Linked DNA regions of Homo sapiens: region 1 is linked to region 2. The links are contacts of gene promoters, found by promoter capture Hi-C in human tissues and cell types (Jung and others, 2019). All regions are on one chromosome and are shown on one strand. Each heading gives the region's core, a stretch centred on a gene start or on the middle of the fragment in contact. The rest is flanking DNA. Distances are from core to core; before and after follow the strand shown.

Region 1 (4,219 bases), core at 1,321-3,820, 1.0 Mb before region 2:
AAGTGGAGTCTGGCGGCTTCTTCCACACTCCCCTCCCACTAGCTTGTGTCAAGATGTGACATCCTATGCAGCAAAACTAGGTGAGCTTGCACCCCCAGGCGGTGGCTCTCAACTTTGTCTCATTGTTCAGAAATTTCGGCCAGGCGCCGTAGCTCACCCCTGTAATCCCAGCACTTTGGGAGGCCATGGCAGGTGGATCACTTGAGGTCAGGAGTTCAAGACCAGCCTGGCCAACACGGTGAAACCCCGTCTCTACTAAAAATACAAAAATTAGCCAGGTGTGGTGGCACATGCCTGTAGTCCCAGCTACTTGGTCAACTCAGGCAGGAGAATCACTTGAACCCAGGAGGCAGAGGTTGCAGTGAGCTGAGATCAAGCCACTCCAGCCTGGGTGACAGACCGAGACTCTGTCTTTAAAAAAAAAGAAATGTCATCTAAGCCCCAGTGAACCTCCTGGGAGGAGAGCTAGCCCTGGCCAGCTGTCTCCAAAGTGACTGGATGCTACAGAAGAACTGGGACTGTCTTCTGCACACTCGTGCCTCCTGGAGTTGTCAGAACACTGAGCAGTCTCCTAGTTCTGCGTCCGTCTAGCCATGGGGTCTGCCATGAAAGCCTGTGGATCTGCTATTGGGTTGGTATTTTAAACTTTCACTTGGGTGAAACTTGTTCATCATTTTAAATAAAGCAACATGATTTGGAGTTGTGTTTTTGGCATTGTTTTGTCCTTATTTTCTTTCTTACTCATTTGAAAGTCAACAATGTACTTTGTCAGCAGAACAGGACTTTAAAAAAATGTATTTACACTTTAAAACAATGGGATGGAGCACAAAATTAAGGCCCTGGGCCAGGAGCATTGATGCACACCTGTAATCCCAGCTGCCCAAGAGGCTAAGGCAGGAGGATCACTTGAGCCCAGGATGTCGAGGCTGCAGAAAGCTATGATCATGCCTGTGAATAGCCACTGCACTCCAGCCTGGGCAACATAGTGAGACCCTGTCTCTTTAAAAAAAAAAAAAGAAAGAAAGACCCTGTCTCTTTAAAAAAAAAAAAAAAAAATTGGCTGGGCGCGGAGGCTCACGCCTGTAATCCCAACACTTTGGGAGGCTGAGGCAGGCAGATTGCCTGAGGTCAGGAGTTCAAGACCAGTCTGGCCAACACGGTGAAACCCTGTCTACTAAAAACAGAAAAAAATTAGCCGGGCATGGTGGTGGGCGCCTGTAATCCCAGCTACTCAGGAGGCTGAGGTGGGAGTTTCGCTTGAACCCGGGAGGTGGAGGTTGCAGTGAGCCGCGATTGCGCCACTGCACTCCAGCCTGGGCAACAGAATAAGACTCCATCTCAAAAGAAAAAAAATAGGCCCATACACTGGCTGAAACTTCCACAGTGGTTAAAAGCTAGTCGCCCGTAGATAAAGCCTATTTCACATTTTATAGTTTATAGGCTCTTTTCATCAACCACCACTAAAAGGAAGTGCATGGCCCGCTTAATATCGTGCAGTGCAGCAGAATTCAGCTCTCCCTGTTGCTGAGGGGTCTCGTTTGTGTATCTTCATTTAAAAAGAAGCACTCCATCTAATATCTGGTTTATATCACAGATCAGCTCAGGCACTGTAATATTCCCAAAAAAGTATTAAAGGCATCCTCAGCAAAAACTGGAACCGTGTTTTTTTTAACATTAGGCCTTATGTTTGGCGTGATACCTGACATGCCCGTCCTGTGTTTATTTAAAATAACTAAAGAGTGGGTGGGGAGTGGTAGGAAAGTATGTTTTTGGTTACAACGTGTTTATCTCAAAATCCACTGTTCAGCAACAGAGGCCTGGGAGGATCTGGAGAAACAAAAACAATAGCCTTCATTTCCTTCATTGTACCCTCCCACCCTGCATGCATTCTGGAATTGTGCAAAGAAGAAAGTCTGGTAAGAGGAATAGCGTTGACCAAGGACCTGCAGCTGAATTTCAGGTCTAGGGGCGGGGGAGCCATGTTACTGTTAACAGGGAGGCCTGTGTTGAAGGCTGCTGGCCTCAGCTCCGAAGGGAGCATTCACTGGCCGGGATCTGGAGATGTCCTCTGTGAAAGTGCATTAAGGCAACCCTGAGGATTAAAAGCAACTCCTGACATGCCTATAAAAACGGCAGTGGCTGAACGTAATCCGGCATTATGATTGCTTTACAAGCCAATCCAGGCTGCCGTTTCCATGAAGCTTCCCGGGTTTGCTTGTCTCTCTGCATTCCCACATTTCCAAAATGCTCTAAGACGAACCGCCGTACTAAGGCCAAAGATGACAACCTAAGGGCACCTCATACAGTATTTCAAATTGAACCTGAGCTAAATTGTGCCCCAAAGCGTCAAGGCTGCCCAGGCCGGGCAGGGGTTGGCCCTCCTGTGCCTCCCAGGTGGTCAGGGCTCTGCCCCCTCAACACCCCCGCCCGCAGCCTGTGCGTCACCCTCCCGGGGCCGGAGGGGGCGGGGGCGGGGCGCGGCGATGGGGGCTCCGCCCCGAGGCGGGGCGCGGCGACCGGGCGCGGCGACGGGGCGCGGCGGGCTCCCTCGGGGTCCCAGCTGGCCCGCACTCGGCGGCCGCGGCGCGATGGAGGCGCCGGCCGAGCTACTGGCCGCGCTGCCTGCGCTGGCCACCGCGCTGGCCCTTCTGCTCGCCTGGCTACTGGTGCGGCGTGGGGCGGCCGCGAGCCCGGAGCCTGCCCGCGCGCCCCCGGAACCCGCGCCCCCGGCCGAGGCCACCGGGGCCCCGGCGCCGTCCCGCCCCTGCGCCCCCGAGCCGGCGGCCTCGCCCGCGGGGCCGGAGGAGCCTGGAGAGCCCGCGGGGCTGGGGGAGCTCGGGGAGCCTGCGGGACCGGGGGAGCCCGAAGGGCCAGGGGATCCCGCGGCGGCGCCAGCGGAGGCGGAGGAGCAGGCGGTGGAGGCGAGGCAGGTACGCACCGGGGCCCTCGCGGCCCCCTCCCCACCCCCGGGGCTCCGGCTGCCGCTGCCGTTCCCCGCCGAGCCAGGGAGCGGGGCCGCGGCCTCCAGCCCAGGCTGCCCCCAGGAAGCGCAGAACCCGCGGCCCGCAGGAAATGCAGGTCCCGCCATGCTAAGCCGCAGCCCCGCAAACTCGCCGCCCTCCCCCAGAAAGTGTGGCGAGGGGCGAGCCCGAAGGAGTTTGTTTGGAGGTGTTTTGCTCTCCCCTCCCCTCGGCCTCTCCCAGCCCAGGGCGTGCTCCGCAGCTGCTGGCTCCCAGGCCTCGGGACCAGGGCTTGGAATTTTGCTCCTCACCCACTTCTGACCCCTCCCGCCCACCGGTTCCCAAATCCACGTGCCTGTGGCTTATTTCCAGGCCTGCCATGAGAGTTATCTTGATGTTTAAAAAGTAGGACTTTCGGGGGGCGAGGGAGGAAAGCTGGCTTTTCTTTTTCAGCCAATTTGAAGTCCAGATTTCAGAGTCAGTGCTGTGGCGTTTTGTGAAGCCCGTGGGCTGGGACTGAAAGAAAAGGCACCCGATCCCAGCAGTCCTTTTTATTGTCGTTTTCAAGCTACACATCTAACACCCTCCTACCCCCACTCCCCCGGGTTGTAGGTAAGCTGGGCCTGGATGGAGTGAAGATGCAGGATAAAGCCCTCCTGGAGCACCAGTGAGCACCCCAAAGCGGCCCTCCCTGCCTCTGCCCCAGGCCTCCCGCCATGCTGTCCATCAGCTCGGCCTTGGCCACCTTGTCCTGCCTGTGGATATCTGAGAGGAGTCGGATTTCCCTCATCCACTCATCCCAGCCCCTACACTGTGTGCCCATGTTCCCTGGAGTTCACCACGCTTGGCCGGTCCAGGCCACCGCCAGGGTCTCCGAGTCGGATTGTAATCCCTTGTTCTTACCCCTGAGCTCCTTTTCTTGGAAGGGAGGAGAGCCGGGATGCGCATTGTCAGCGTGCCTGCGTGTCTGCGTGCCCACTCTGTCCTGTGCTGGACACAATGGTTTACCCTGGAGAGAAGCCCTTCGGGGGAGGAGGAGGCAGCCAGGCTGTGCTCAGAGGCATTTCTCTTTGCTGAGTAAGTGCGCCAGACCCCCTCTGAGCAGGCGCTTTGCTTGACAAGTGGGTGACTAATTGTGTCATTAGAGAGGATTCTAACCAGCCACATTTAATGGGGTGGAGCAGGGGCAGGCCCTGCCGTTCTTGCTTGGGGTGGGCTTCCAGACCTCACGCGGTGATGGTGGAGGGGGCGCGGTTTGG
Region 2 (4,308 bases), core at 679-3,178:
AAGAAAAGAAAAAGCAGGTGAAAACGAATTTTCCTTTCTTATCTTGTTAATAAACTGAGAAGACTTAAATGAGCCCCAACCAAGATTAAAAATAATGCAGAGTTGACTGTAGATATAAATGATACACCAGTTAGGATGAATGCCTGCTATAAATGGAGTAAATCATTTAAACAGGGAAAAATCAACATAAAACACCCATTGATATCTGGGTTAAATAAAATAATCCACTATCTTTTCCCCCAAATTTCAATTCAAAGATTAATAAAAAATGATCCATGTGAAAATACATTTTCAAACAGATCTGATATCCAATCCAGTTTCTTCCACTAATACTAAAACAAAACGGGAGAGCAAGGGATGGAGCTAACCATGAAATGGAACACTGTTGGCACAGTTCCAAAATCTGACAAATGAAATTGTGCTTTCAGTAGCTCTGGATCTGGGAGATTTACCTACCGACTGTCTACTGTTCTCATCTTCTTCTTCTTCATAACCATCTTCATCACCCCCTAGACGAGAAAAGTCATCCTCCCCATAGGCATCAGATACCAATCCGCCTTTCTCCTCTGAAAGGTTAAAAAACAAACAAACAAACAAAAAGCAAGAAAAAAAAAACAAGAGTTACAATGTAAGAAAAAATGTCCAGAGATTTGAGTGGCCAAGACTATCTCTGAAGATACAAAGGGAACCTAAATCTCATGTTAAGTTACAATAGGCCCAGATTCGGCTCTCTGAGAAGGCCAGCATTTACTGAATAAAATCATTAAAAGGTCAGGGAACAAAACCGAGTACTAAATTCTGTTTCTAATGCTATAAACACTAGATAAACACTAAAGTGTTTATAGGAAACCATCAGAGAACTTTCTGACTGGAAGAGACCACACAAAATCACAAAACATGGAAGTACCTAACCTAATCCAATCCCCTTCACTTTCCAGATGAGGAAGCTAAGGTCCTGATATGTTGTTAGGTAACTTGTTCTTTATTCTCCCAAAGGAATCTGTTTCCATTATCTAACATTGTGCTTCTCAACCTGAGGAGGAGAACATCACCGTTAGGCTTTAAAAACTCACAAAATAAGAAAAATCACCTGGGATCCTTAAAAAGTTCACAAATGCCCACATCCTACCCCAGTTCTACCGAATTAGGTTCTCTCACTTTGGGCATCAGATACGTTTGTTTTTAAAAGCTCCAAGATGTGTTTAGGGCACATTCCTAACTAAAAGTTATAAAGTTAACGAACACAATCTTTACCATCTTCCACGTATGTTTTACTTATCGCTCTCCCTCATCAAACAACGAGCCCAGGGGAAACAGGCAGTGGCTGAGCAGCCGCTCCCTCTTCGTCCATCCCTCTGTCTATCACTATAGCCGGCACGGAGTCTTTCAGTAAGTTTAGGCAAATTAATCGAAATAACGGGAAGGAGATTCTTCATTCTTAGTCCACAGTCTCTAATGCTCTATCTCACCCCGGACCCTGGACCATTCTTCGGGGTCCGGTGCTTGGAGCACAATGACCATCTTGTTCCCTCCCGCCCAGCGAGGGTACAGCATTCCGGGCAGACACCCGATTCCCCCTTCCAGCTTCGCACTTGGGCCTTACCAGCCGCGCTGCCCACCGCCTCGATTCCAGCCTCGCCATCAGACTCGGGCTCTGAATCTTCCGCGTAAACTGCGAGAGACGACAGAACATTCTTCTTCCCCGCCATCTTATTCCCACAGCCCGGGCGTGGCTCACTCCTATGACTCAAGACGCCGACTTCCGGGCGGAAAGGCAGGTTCTTTCGGATCCCAGGAGACCCCCGCGCCACACTGGAAACCAATCAAAACGGCAGTTTCCTGCGCCTGGCTCCGCCCTCATGCCAGCGCTCGCGCTACGTCATCACTGCGCGACGGATATAAGATTGCGTGGGTTCTGCCTAAAGCTGAATTCCCAGCGCTTTGGCTTCTCTGAGTTGGGGTTGTGTATAGGGGTCTTCGAACAGTTCCGGAACCAGCCAGCAGCCTTTAATTCTTGGGCGGACCACGGCCGGTTCTGATATCTTAGGGTGAAGAGAGGGAGGTGTCGGCCAGCCAAGAGAGAAAATTGCGGATCTTGGGCTCAGGAAGACGGGAGAAGGGGTTCGGGGTCCCGGGGTGGAAGAACGGTCGTCGTGGTTGCGCTTATAGAAGTAGGAGCAGGTGGTGGATCTTAGGAAAACGGTTCCCCGTTCTCCAAGCTGTTCTGAAGACATTTATGTTTCTTCTCTTGATCTGATTTCTAGCTCTGTGCTATACCGTGGCCTGGAATAGTTCAATGTTTTCATTTTCATTGAGCGTAAAAGTGGAGATGTTAATTACTGAGGAATGTATTGCTTGAGGCAGTTCACCTTCAGCTTTATTACTTAAAAATAATACATTATTTAAGTGTAATATAGCAAATTGTTACAGAAAAATAATCTGTATTTTTAATGCAAAACAGAGGGTTCTCGTGGCAACCTTTTACTACCTTTGCCTTAACCTTTGGCCACTGTTCTTGGCTAAGATGAGCAGCCACCATACCACCTTTCCTTTTGACCCTGAGCGGCGAGTCCGGAGTACGCTGAAGAAGGTCTTTGGGTTTGACTCTTTTAAGACGCCTTTACAGGAGAGTGCGACCATGGCTGTAGTAAAAGGTAACATTACCAAGCTACCTTCCTTTAAATTTATGCTGGCTATACCATAACGCTGCGGCAGAACACCCTCCTCCTCACCCTTCGTACTGCCTCACCTTTGGTCCATAACTGGATTTGGAAATCTTTAGAGTTGTCAAAGCTTGTAGTTTCGTTTATTTGTTTTAATTAGAGATGGGGTCTTGGCATGTTGCTCAGGCTGGTCTCCAAATCCTGGGCTCAGGCAATCCTCCCACCTCGGCCTCCCAAGGTGCTGGGATTACAAGCATGAGCCACCACGCCCGGCCCAAAGCTTGTAGTTTTAGTGGCAGAACCACCCAGCTGGTCTATATTTCATAGCTAGATTTACACATGGTCTTTGAAAACACTTCAGATTCTCATTATTGTTCGTTTGTACACACAAACGAACAGCAACAGTGAGGGTGGTAGGAATAACTTAACTCGGTCACTGGCCTCCTAGGTAATTCCCTTGTTGCAGGTTGAGTGGCCTTGGTCCCAGATAGAGAAGGAAAGAGTAATAATGTTATAAACCTGAGATACGGTGACAAATGGAAGTTGCCAAGAGGCGAGCAGCAATGTAATATTAATGATACATGTCTAAACAAAAGCCCTCTAAGTAATGTCCTCTCATGTCTACACAGATGTACCCACTCATCTAGCAGTACTCTGCTTTCATGGCTGTTTAGTTCAATCATCCATATCACAGCAGACTCAGACTTCTTTTTTTTTTTTTTTTTTTTTGAAACAGAGTCTTGCTCTGTCGCCCACACTGGAGTGCAGTGGCGCGATCTCGGCTCACTGCAACCTCCGCCTCCTGGGTTCAAGCAATTCTCCTGCTTCAGCCTCCTGAGTAGCTGGGATTACAGGCACGTGCCACCATGCCTGGGTAATTTTTGTATTCTTAGTAGAGACAGAGTTTCACCATGTTGGCCAGGCTGGTCTCAAACTCTTGCCCTCGTGATCTGCCTGCCTTAGCCTCCCAAAGTGCTGGGATTACAGGCGTGAGCCACTGCGCTTGACCCAGACTTTTTAAATCTTGTTTTTAACCATTACTAGAAATGGTTTGGGCATGTATCCAAGTTTCCCAGGATCCTTGCCTTTTTCATAGAAAGGACAGGAGGGGAATTAGGATTACATCGAGACCCTCCCATGTGCCAGACACTCTGCTAGGTGCTTTTCCTACATTCTCATTTAATTTTCAACAACTTCAATGAAAAGGCAGGAAGCACTGAGATATTGTTGTCTTGTATTTTTTCAGGTAACAAGGACGTCTTTGTGTGCATGCCCACAGGGGCAGGAAAATCCCTATGCTATCAGCTCCCTGCTCTGTTGGCCAAAGGCATCACCATTGTAGTCTCTCCTCTCATTGCTTTGATTCAGGTGAGGCTTAGGGCAATGAAGATGGTAGCCCAAAAAGATTCGGGGAAGGTTTTTTGAGGCTGGAAATTTCACTTCTCTATTGGTCTTTTGCCTCTTATTTTCTTTTCTTTTTCTTTTTCCTTTTTTTTTTTTTTTTTTGAGACAGAGTCTTACTCTGTCGCCTAGGCTGAAGTGCGGTGGTGCGATCTTGGCTCACTGCAGCCTCCACCTCCCGGCTTCCAGCAATTCTTGTGCCTCAGCCCCCCATATAGCTGGGATTACAGGTGTATGCCACCAT

What was found. Contacts are between HindIII fragments. The study calls those that stand out against the background at their distance.
Region 1: a contact is called between the fragment with the promoter of MXRA7 here and the fragment with the promoter of RECQL5 in region 2, in 1 of the 25 tissues and cell types used here (aorta).

What each region holds. Positions count from the first base shown.
Region 1 is chr17:76,709,316-76,713,534 of GRCh38, reverse strand. MXRA7 (matrix remodeling associated 7) reads left to right here and starts at 2,570. Exons shown (of 4, transcript NM_198530.4): 1 at 2,570-2,930. The coding sequence starts at 2,589. It also overlaps a transcript of JMJD6 not described here. RefSeq lists a silencer at 2,339-2,548. The HindIII fragment of the contact is 3,325 bases long and covers 1,003-4,219 here.
Region 2 is chr17:75,664,774-75,669,081 of GRCh38, reverse strand. It overlaps RECQL5 (RecQ like helicase 5), which reads left to right and starts at 1,928. Exons shown (of 20, transcript NM_004259.7): 1 at 1,928-2,038; 2 at 2,511-2,654; 3 at 3,910-4,031. The coding sequence starts at 2,525. It overlaps SAP30BP (SAP30 binding protein), which reads right to left and starts at 1,744. Exons shown (of 11, transcript NM_013260.8): 1 at 1,604-1,744; 2 at 457-566. The coding sequence starts at 1,709. RefSeq lists enhancers at 1,503-1,752, 1,923-2,022, 1,604-2,803. The HindIII fragment of the contact is 12,020 bases long and covers 1-4,308 here.